Linked DNA regions of Homo sapiens: region 2 is linked to region 1. Evidence: promoter capture Hi-C in 16 types of primary human blood cells and fetal thymus (Javierre and others, 2016). All regions are on one chromosome and are shown on one strand. Each heading gives the region's core, a stretch centred on a gene start or on the middle of the fragment in contact. The rest is flanking DNA. Distances are from core to core; before and after follow the strand shown. Region 1 holds the start of THOC1 (THO complex subunit 1). Region 2 has its middle 33 kb from the start of MYL12-AS1.

What was found. Contacts are between HindIII fragments. The CHiCAGO score rates a contact against its expected background, and 5 or more counts as called.
Region 2: a contact is called between a fragment that was not itself captured here and the fragment with the promoter of THOC1 in region 1, in 1 of 17 cell types (total CD4 T cells). The highest score is 6.0, in total CD4 T cells.

What each region holds. Positions count from the first base shown.
Region 1 is chr18:266,014-270,602 of GRCh38, reverse strand. It overlaps THOC1 (THO complex subunit 1), which reads left to right and starts at 2,556. Exons shown (of 21, transcript NM_005131.3): 1 at 2,556-2,637. The coding sequence starts at 2,584. RefSeq lists a silencer at 1,648-1,827 and an enhancer at 2,218-2,687. The HindIII fragment of the contact is 5,170 bases long and covers 1-4,125 here.
Region 2 is chr18:3,292,629-3,297,217 of GRCh38, reverse strand. No RefSeq gene overlaps it. Among named protein-coding and RNA genes, the nearest start is that of MYL12-AS1, 33 kb to the right of the region's middle. RefSeq lists enhancers at 1-12, 2,173-2,467. The HindIII fragment of the contact is 1,139 bases long and covers 1,674-2,812 here.

The DNA of each region.
Region 1 (4,589 bases), core at 1,307-3,806:
AACATAGCAAAACCCTGTCTTACAAAAATAAAAAAATTAGCTGAGCTTGGTGGCACATGCCTCTAGTCCCAGCTACTTGGGAAATGGAGGCAGGAGGATCATTTGAGCCCAGGAGTTTGAGGATACAGTCAGCTATGATCAAACCACTACACTCCAGTCTGGATGACAGAATGAGACCCTGTCTCTTAAGAAAAGAAAAAAATGTACTTGCCTCTGAGGTCTTAGTTGTGTTCCAGATGGTTAATAGTCATCTGTAATATGATAATCCTATTACAACAATTAGTATCAGATAAACAAAGTATAATTCTGAATTAAATCATTTTTATTTTGCCAATTTGTAAATTTAATGTATACAACCAAACCTGAATGATCTTGCTGATTCTTAAAAAGCCTGTAACATTTCAGGTAGTCATTATTGTTCACAATTCCCACTTAGGAGTAAGATTCTGCAGTTATCTTTTCCTTAGCTTCCTGTATTCTTATTGTGCATGTTAACTAAAAAATCATAAGATCTATAGATTTAGAAAAGGAGAGACTTTGTTTCTTATAAGGAGTTACAGCCTGCAAGGTGGCCATTCTGCAGGCTGGGAAGCATGCCTCCAGCCAAGACCACATACAGACACTTCAGAGGAGGAGTTGGAGTAGGAACTTTATGCTTAACTGGTTGGCTAAACATACATATTCAACAAGTTAGAGGAGCGGCTATGAATATTCATGAAAGTGGTCTTGACACATGCATATTAAACAAATATGCATGTTTAACAGACAATCCATGTTCACTTTGGGGTGGAGACTTAACATTTAAATGTATTTACAGTTTGGTCCTATACATCAAAATATCTTTTCAGGAAGTTACGTAAGCATGCAATCACTACAAATTGGCCAGAACAAGTCCATGGTCAGTGACCTTCTTATCAGGAGAAAGTAACTGAAATCAATAAAAGCTGTAGTTACGGCTGGTGGGAGAGGGTTGTTAGTGTCTGGTGGTCGATGAACTGCAAATTGTTTTAATACTGTGAGGCCAGCGCTTGTTTAGCTGCTAAAGAAAAACCTTGAAGCATAGTGAGAACATAGTTTATTTTTCAAGCGTAGGGATGCATGACTTTTAACCCTTGCTTGGCATGGGCTTAGGTCCTGTTTATACTTTGGTATCTTATTGCCATGGAGTCAATTCCGTCAGTCCTATCATCTCCGTTTTTTTTTTTGAAACAGAGTTTCACTCTTGTCGCCCAGGCTGGAGTGCAATGGCACGATCTCCGCTCACTGCAACCTCCGCCTGCCGGGTTCAAACCATTCTCCTGCCTCGGCCTCCTGAGTAGCTGGGATTACAGGTGCGTGCCACCACGCCCGGCTAATTTTTGTATTTTTAGTAGAGACAGCGTTTCACCATGTTTGCCATACCTCAGGTGATCCACTCCTGACCTCAGGTGACCCACCTGCTTCGGCGTCCCAAAGTGCTGGGATTACAGGCGTAAGCCACCGCGCCTGGCCTCTATTTTAACTTTATGGCCAGTCAGCTATCTCCTCTAAATCACAAAAGGGAGAGGGTATAACCAGGTCCGTCTGACCTCCCATCCCGTTATGACTGGGAACTCAGTTGTTAAGATTTTGCTGGTGTCCCCTTGGCCTCACGGGGGTCTGTTCAGTTGTTGGGGGGCTTAGGATTTTAAATTTACAGACTTCGAAGAAGGGAACAAGATACACGTGTGAGGGAATAAGAGGAAGTTACCCGAGTCTGAGTCAGTGCTTCCTTCTCCACCGTGTAACTCCAACTTAGAGTTACTGCCACTCGGCTTCTATCGGCCACGTCTCTCCTGGGAAGGCAGGCAAGGGACGAAATGGAGGGAGACAAGGTTTTCGCTAGGGAAGCCTCGGCCCAGGACGCAGCGCCACCCGTTTTCCAATCAGCGCCGGGCACTGCATTCCTCCTAGGTCTCTTTCTTTCAGTAGAGACCTTTTAATAATAAATACTACTTACATTGCTTTACAGTTCACACTTGCGGTCATTATTTCAGTGGAGCTTTTCAACAGCTCTGTGAGACAGGTATTATTTCTATTTCGGAGCAGAGAGAACAGCGCCCTTGAGCCACAGGGCTCATACATCCGGAGCCTATCACCACTCCGCATCTTAAGCTCCCGGGATGACCGCGGACTGGCGGCCCAGGACCACTGCTCCAGCTGTTTCCCCAGGTAATCCACCTGCCTTGGGTTACCTTTTAGCGCGGCCCAGTTAGCCGCAACCAGCCACCATTTACCCGCTTTCCCCAAACCAGGAAAACCACAGAAACGCATGTGCGCGGCCAGTCTCTTCCACGCCCGGGAACGCAGAGCTTACAGACCAAGGCCGCCCAAGTCCCCTCACCCCAAAGGCTACCCAAGAACCCCGAGTAGGCTGTTTGGCTGACTCAGGCGCCCAACGCCCACCCGAACTGAGTCGCTAGGGAAACTCCCAACTGCCAGCTCGCCCGACCGGTGTTCACAGGCCACTCTAGCCGGGCTCAGAGAGACCGCAGTCTCGTTGCTCCTGGCTTGACGTCATCGGCAGGCGCCGCAGCGCAGTGGCGGGCACGCGCAGCCGAGAAGATGTCTCCGACGCCGCCGCTCTTCAGTTTGCCCGAAGCGCGGACGCGGTTTACGGTGAGCTGTAGAGGGGAGGGTGCAGGCCTGACCCGGCGCTATGCTTTGTCCTCTTCTCCCTGAAATTACTCGAATTTTGCCCTGGGGTAAAGTGAGACAGAGGTGTGTCCGCCTCAGCGTCCGCTCCGGGCCCCGTCGGAGGTTGAGGGGTAGGGAAAGACGCACTACCCGCCTCTTCTTTGTGGGCTGGGCCGTCCGCCTCCGCCCACCCTCCAGCGGGTCCCCGGACTGCGTGCTGGGCGCCTCGGCTCCCCGCTTGGAGTGCCCACCTGCAGACTACTGCTGGTTGGGTCCATCCTCTCAGCTCGTTTAGTGGGGCAGGTGTCTCGAGAAGGGGAAGGGGAGCTGCTGAAGGGGGAGGGTGGGAGTGGTTTCAGTCCAAAGACCTGGCTCCCGCCCTAGCCTTCTGAGCTACCAAGTGCTTGTTCCCGCCGTCTCTTCACCACCCCTTAACCCACCGTGTCTAACTCCTAAGCGATCGATGAGATCCTAAGCGGGAAAAGGCAGATAGATCACCTTGGGAAGGGTAACCAGATGCTATTTTATTCTTGCTCAATGTGGAAGGGTGGTTTTGAGCATTTGGGAAACACTTGACAGATCACTTTCTCATTTAACTATTAGAGTAACACTGTGAAGTAGGCTAAGTTGGTTATTCCTGGTACATGAGGTAGAAGCTGACACCCCCCAAAAAGTTGTGACTTCAGTGGTTTTTCTGACTTTAGACACTCTGTTCTTTTTATGTTGCTCGTCACAGCAACGTAAGTATGAAGAACACTTTTAAGTTGCCTGACTCTATTCGTCTCTAGCATTTGCACCAACATTTCTCAGATATTCGGCTGTGTTTTGGTAGTTATAGGGATGCCAGGATGAAAATTGTGTGAAAGAAAAATTCATCCTTTGTAGTAAGTAGTTTTCTTGTTTGCAGGGTTATATATATATATATATACATATATATACGTATACGTATAATATATATATACACACACACACAGTGTGAGGTTTTTTTTAAATGGATTATATTTTGTGTATGTCATCATAATCATTTTCTTTGTGTGCGTTTTGCTGCAATCTCTGGTGCTTTGAAAGCCTGCTAAGAGTAACTGTTAGGACTATCCAAGATCATATTGGCGGCCGGGCGCAGTGGCTCACGCCTGTAAATGCAGTACTTCGGGAGGCCGAGGCGGGCGGATCACCTGAGGTCAAGAGTTCAAGGCCAGCCTGGCCAACATGGCAAAGCCCCGTCTCTACTAAAAATACGAAAATTAGCCAGGCGTGGTGGTGGGCGCTGTAATCCCATCTACTTGGGAGGCTGAGGCAGGAGAATCGCTTGAACCCGGACAGCGGAGGTTGCAGTGAGCCAAGATCATGCCAGTGCACAACACCTGGGCAACAGAGGGAGACTCCATCTCAAAAAAAAAAAAAAAAATCATACTAGCCCTGAAAAGGACCATGAAATTGGAGATCATCTAGTTCAGTGTTTCTCAAGCTTCTTGTGAAATGCAGATTCTTGTTCAGTAAGTGTGGAAGGGAGCCTGAGATTTTGCATTTCTACCAGCTTCCTAGGTGATGCCACTGTAGCTGCTGCTGGTAGTAAAAATCTACAAAAACCCTCTTATTTAACTGGTGACGAAAATGAAGCACAAAGAGATAAAGGAACAGGCCCCAAATTACTCAGCCTGTTAGTGGCAGAGCAAGGAATGGACACATTTAGGATAGATCTAATTCCTGTGAGGTAATAAGATGACTTTCTAAGTGTATGTGAGTGTTCATAGAATGAATGCCTTTTGCAATATTTTTGTCTTTAAGTTATGATTACTTTAAAACAATCTACAGATTGTCAGCATGGTTTTATTGAGTGCTACGTGTCAGGGACTGAACAAGATACCTCCAGGAGGCGAGACCTGACATGGGTGTGGGAGAATGGATAGAATTTGGATGAGCAGGTAGGAAGA
Region 2 (4,589 bases), core at 994-3,493, 3.0 Mb before region 1:
ATGCACTTGGCAAGGCCGGTCCCTCACCCGCAGGGTTCCGCTTGCAGCAGCTCGTTAGAATCCAGGCAGTCCGCATTCAGAACTCAAGACTGCCCCATGCCATAAGCCTTCCTGAAGGAGAGAACAACCAATGCTTTCAAGCCACGCCCCTCCCAGTCTGCCCGTGAAGCAGGGGCGCCCAGCTCCTGCACCCGTGGCTGCAGCACATTTCCCAGTCACTCCTTGGTTCTGCCCAAGGGGGTTTGTCCCCATTCGGCATTATATTGTGAACCCAGTTGGGAACTTCTGCCAACCTGTGACTGCTGTCTGAGTTAGCTGGCAGATTTCTGCACAGTCCTCTGTGAGGTAGGGTCGGGAATGTCTTCCCTCCATCCTCACTGGAGCCTGGGAGTGCATGCAAAGCCCGTCCCAATGATGCTTTTTCTCATACATTCCCCACTGCTCACTAAAATCAGCTCCATTGCTGGATAGGGTTAAGTTCTTCCCTCATGGGCCTCTATTGCCAGATTCCCAAGTGGGAGTGTATGTTCCAGAGGCAATTTATTCCTCTTTCACTCTGGGGAACTTAGTTTTCCACTGGCTTATGGTGTAGGCTGCAGCCCAGTGCTTCTTTCAAAGGGTCAGTGGCTTCTTTCAGTTCTCCTGTTAAGTTCCTGTGTTGCTTCTAGGAGAAAAGTTCACAGTGTGTGAGTCTCTACACACTATCTTGTCTTTCCAAGTGGAAGAGGCATGCTAACACTGCCTCCAATCTGCCATCTTGGGAGCAACAGAGTGAGAACTTGTCTCTTAAAAAAAAGGTGGGGAGGCCGGGCGCGGTGGCTCACGCCTGTAATCCCAGCATTTGGGAGGCCAAGGCAGGCAGATTATGAGGTCAGGAGTTCGAGGCCAGCCTGGCCAACATGGTGAAACCCCATCTCTACTAAAGATATAAAAAATTAGCCGGGCGTGGTGACGCCCGCCTGTGATCCCAGCTACTCAGGAGGCTGAGGCAGGAGAATCGCTTGAACCTGGGAGGTGGAGGTTGCAGTGAGCAGAGATAGCGCCATTGCACTCCAGCCTGGGTGACAGGGTGAGACTCTGTCTCAAAAAAAAAAAAAAAAAAAAAAGTGGGAGGGGAAGCGGTCTTTTGTTTTAGAGATATCTGCTTTAATATGTATGAACAAATATCAGTGATTTGCTGACAAAATGATTTGTCAGTGATTTACTTCAAAGTAATCTAGTGATGCAGGTAAGAGGGCTGAGGGATAATGATGAAAGGAAAATGGGAGGGGTTATAGATGAAACAAGTTTGGCCATGAGCTGATTATTATTGAAGCTAGGTGATGCCTACAAGGGGATCCATACATTATTTTCTCTTTGCAATACAATCCTGACCTGGAGTAAGGTCAAATTTCACAGGTTAAGGGAACAGCCACTCACAGGATGCCTCTTACCCCAGATACCAGCTGTTATATGTTCCAGGGTTCCTGAGCCACCGGTGCTTCTGACCAACTGACCACAAATGCAGGGATTCCCACTAACTCCTCAGGTTTAATAATGGACCAGAACAACTCACAGAATGCAGGCACGCACTATACTTAGGCTTAGTGTTTCATTATAAAAGACACAAACCAGGGACATCCAAATGAAAAGGTGCAGGGAGCAAAGTCTGGGAGGGTCCCAAATTCAAAGCTTCTTTATGCTCAGGACCTGTCATCCTCCTGGCACACTGATGTATGATTATCAACCTGGAAGTTTCCCCTAGCTTTCATGTCCAGAGTTTTTATTTGGGTTTTATTTTGTAGGCATGATTGGTTGAATCATTGGCAGTGTGATCGAATTCAGTCTCCAGCCCCCTGCTCCTTCCTGGGGGTCAGAGGTCAGAAGTCAGGCTGATATCCACATTGCTCAAAGCCCCAACCCTCCAGTCACATGGATGGCTTTTGTGGCATGTCCAGCCCCTATCCTGAGTGATATCATTAACATAAAGTCAGGCATGATCTGAGGATATTATTTCATAGAAATACAGCCTTCCACAAACGTTGGAACTGGTTAAAGAGTCTCTGTAAGACTGTAGTCCTTTCATCTGGTACTGGAGCTTGAAGTCCAGAGGGCAGAGAGTTGGAAAGCGACAATGGATATAAAGTGAGGAAGATCAAGAAAAGACTGGAACCCACAGCATGAACTAGAACCCAGCAGGACAAATTGAAACTCATGTCAGTTCATATTCCTTCTGGTGTTGATAGTGGGGACCCAACCTCATGGAACTAAACACACACACACCAGGCCCAGGAGTCAGGGAAGCTGAGGGAAAACCCAGTGGAAGGTAGAGCAGGCCCAGCTGCCGCTTCATGCTGATGAGGTGAGTCAGCAGATCAGCAACAATGTGTGTGAGCTACAAAATGACTGCAGCTTCCCATCTGCTTTCTGAATCTCACAAGAATCTCCCTCATGGCCCACCATAACCAGAAACATACAAGAAACAAAATTGTGGAAAACGTAGTTCAGCTTAGCCAAGTCAATACATTACAAGGCCACCACACCACACTTAATAAAAAGTAAACATTTGTAAATCAATCAACCAGTGCCTGGAAGTACTTATTTAAGAGCCAAATTATTTCACAAAGTAAACTGAAACACACCTGGTGAATCCCACCCACCACTGGATACATATTTGCATTGCCACCCATTATTCCTTCCCTCTTCTCCTGTAAGAGAATACGATCTCCTACCAATTCTCCCTCCACCTTTTATTCTCTCTCAGTAATCATGCTTCATCAATTAACTTCTGTCTCTGGCTGTTCTTTATCTTCAGCTTCTTTTTTTTTAAGCTTCCCATGATTCTGTAAATCCCTATAGCAAATAACTTTTTTTTCTCTTTTCCATTACAGCCAAGTGTTGAGTACAAAAAGTCTATTTATGCTATCGTTACTTCTATAATGTGATTTTTCTGTAGTATTTGAGAATATTCAATTCTTCTGAAATTAACAAGAGAAACAAACAAGTAGAACAATAGGTGACACTCATAAAACATGTTGAGGAATGATAGCAAATGTACTAAGTTAGAAATCTTTTAGGTTAAACATAAATAGCATATACAGAACATATGTTTGGTAAGCATAGATTAAAAGAATGGAAATACCAAGTGTGCTACTTGTAGATAGGAAAGGATAGAAGGACCAAGTAAACCTAAAATATTAGTAAAATCACAGATCATGTATCCTCCTGAATGACAGCTATGTCATATTTAAATCAGCTGCTGAATCGTGACAGCTATTCTTGCCCCAGGTGACCTCTGTCCAAGATATGCAGATAAATCCACAGCTCCTCAGCACTTCATTGGTGAATTTCAGTTGTGCACAGGCTCCTTGTCCTCCATCTCTTTGAAAGAGGAAGCATGTGTTGGCTTCAGGCACCTTCAATTTGCTGAGTCTCCTTGCTCACCCTTGACTCTGGTCACTGCATCAGACCATGCCATCAGTAGGAAATTCTGATGTGTCTTTGTAGGTGAGAGAGATAGGATATGAACATTGTGTGACTCAGGATTTTTTTTGTATGGCTCTTACATCCAACTTGGATCCTATCCTTAGTGTGATAACTTATCTCAGTTTCCACTTGCTTCTTGCTTTGTGTTTAAAATTTACACATAGGCTGGACATGGTGGCTCAAACTTGTAATTCTAGCACTTTGGAAGGCTGAGGTGGGAGGACTGCTTGAGCCCAGGAGTTCAAGACCAGCCTGGGCAACATAGCGAGACCTTGTCTCTAAAACAAAAATAAAAACAAAAAATTAGCTGAGCATGCTAGTGTGTGCCTGTAGTCCTAGCTACTAGGGAGTTTGAGGTGGGAGGATTGCTTAAGCCCAGGAGGATGAGGCTGCAATGAGCCATGATGACACCACTGCACTCCAGCCTGGGTGACAGAGCAAGACCCTGTCTCAAAAAAGAAAAGAAAACATAAATAAACCTTGTGATTCCAGCGTCTTTGCAATTTTCTCTCACCCTGTCTCTTTTATGAACTCTAGAGCAGCCTGCCTGATAGTGTACTTGGAGGTAGCATGAACAACTTGTCCTGATTTGTAGCTTTTGCACGCAAATCCAGTATCCTAGAAACCCCCTCAGTTCTGTGCAAATGGGGACAATTGGTCACCCTACTTGGAAGTAATTATTACATCAAGTTCATTTCCCACTGAAGCAGTCCCCTTACCTCTCCTTTTCTTCTTCAATTATTGTAATCTGGTTTCTACTGACACAAATTGCTATGGGTTGAATGTGTTCTCCAAAGTTCATGTGTTGTAAACTTAATCCCCAATGCAAAAGTGTTGAGAGGTGGGACTTTTAAGAGGTAATTAGGTCATGAGAGCTCAGTCCTCATGAATGGATTAATGCCATTATTGTGGAAATGGATTTCTGATAAAAGGATAAGTTCAGCCCTCTTCCCATCTCTCTCTCACATGCTTTATTGCCCTTCTGCCTTCCATGATGGGATGATGCATCAAGAAGGCCCCCTTCAGATATAGGCCCTTCAATCTTGGACTCCCCAGCCTCCAGAACTGTAAGAAATAAATTTCTGTTCTTTATAAATTATCCAATCTCAGATATTCTGTTATAG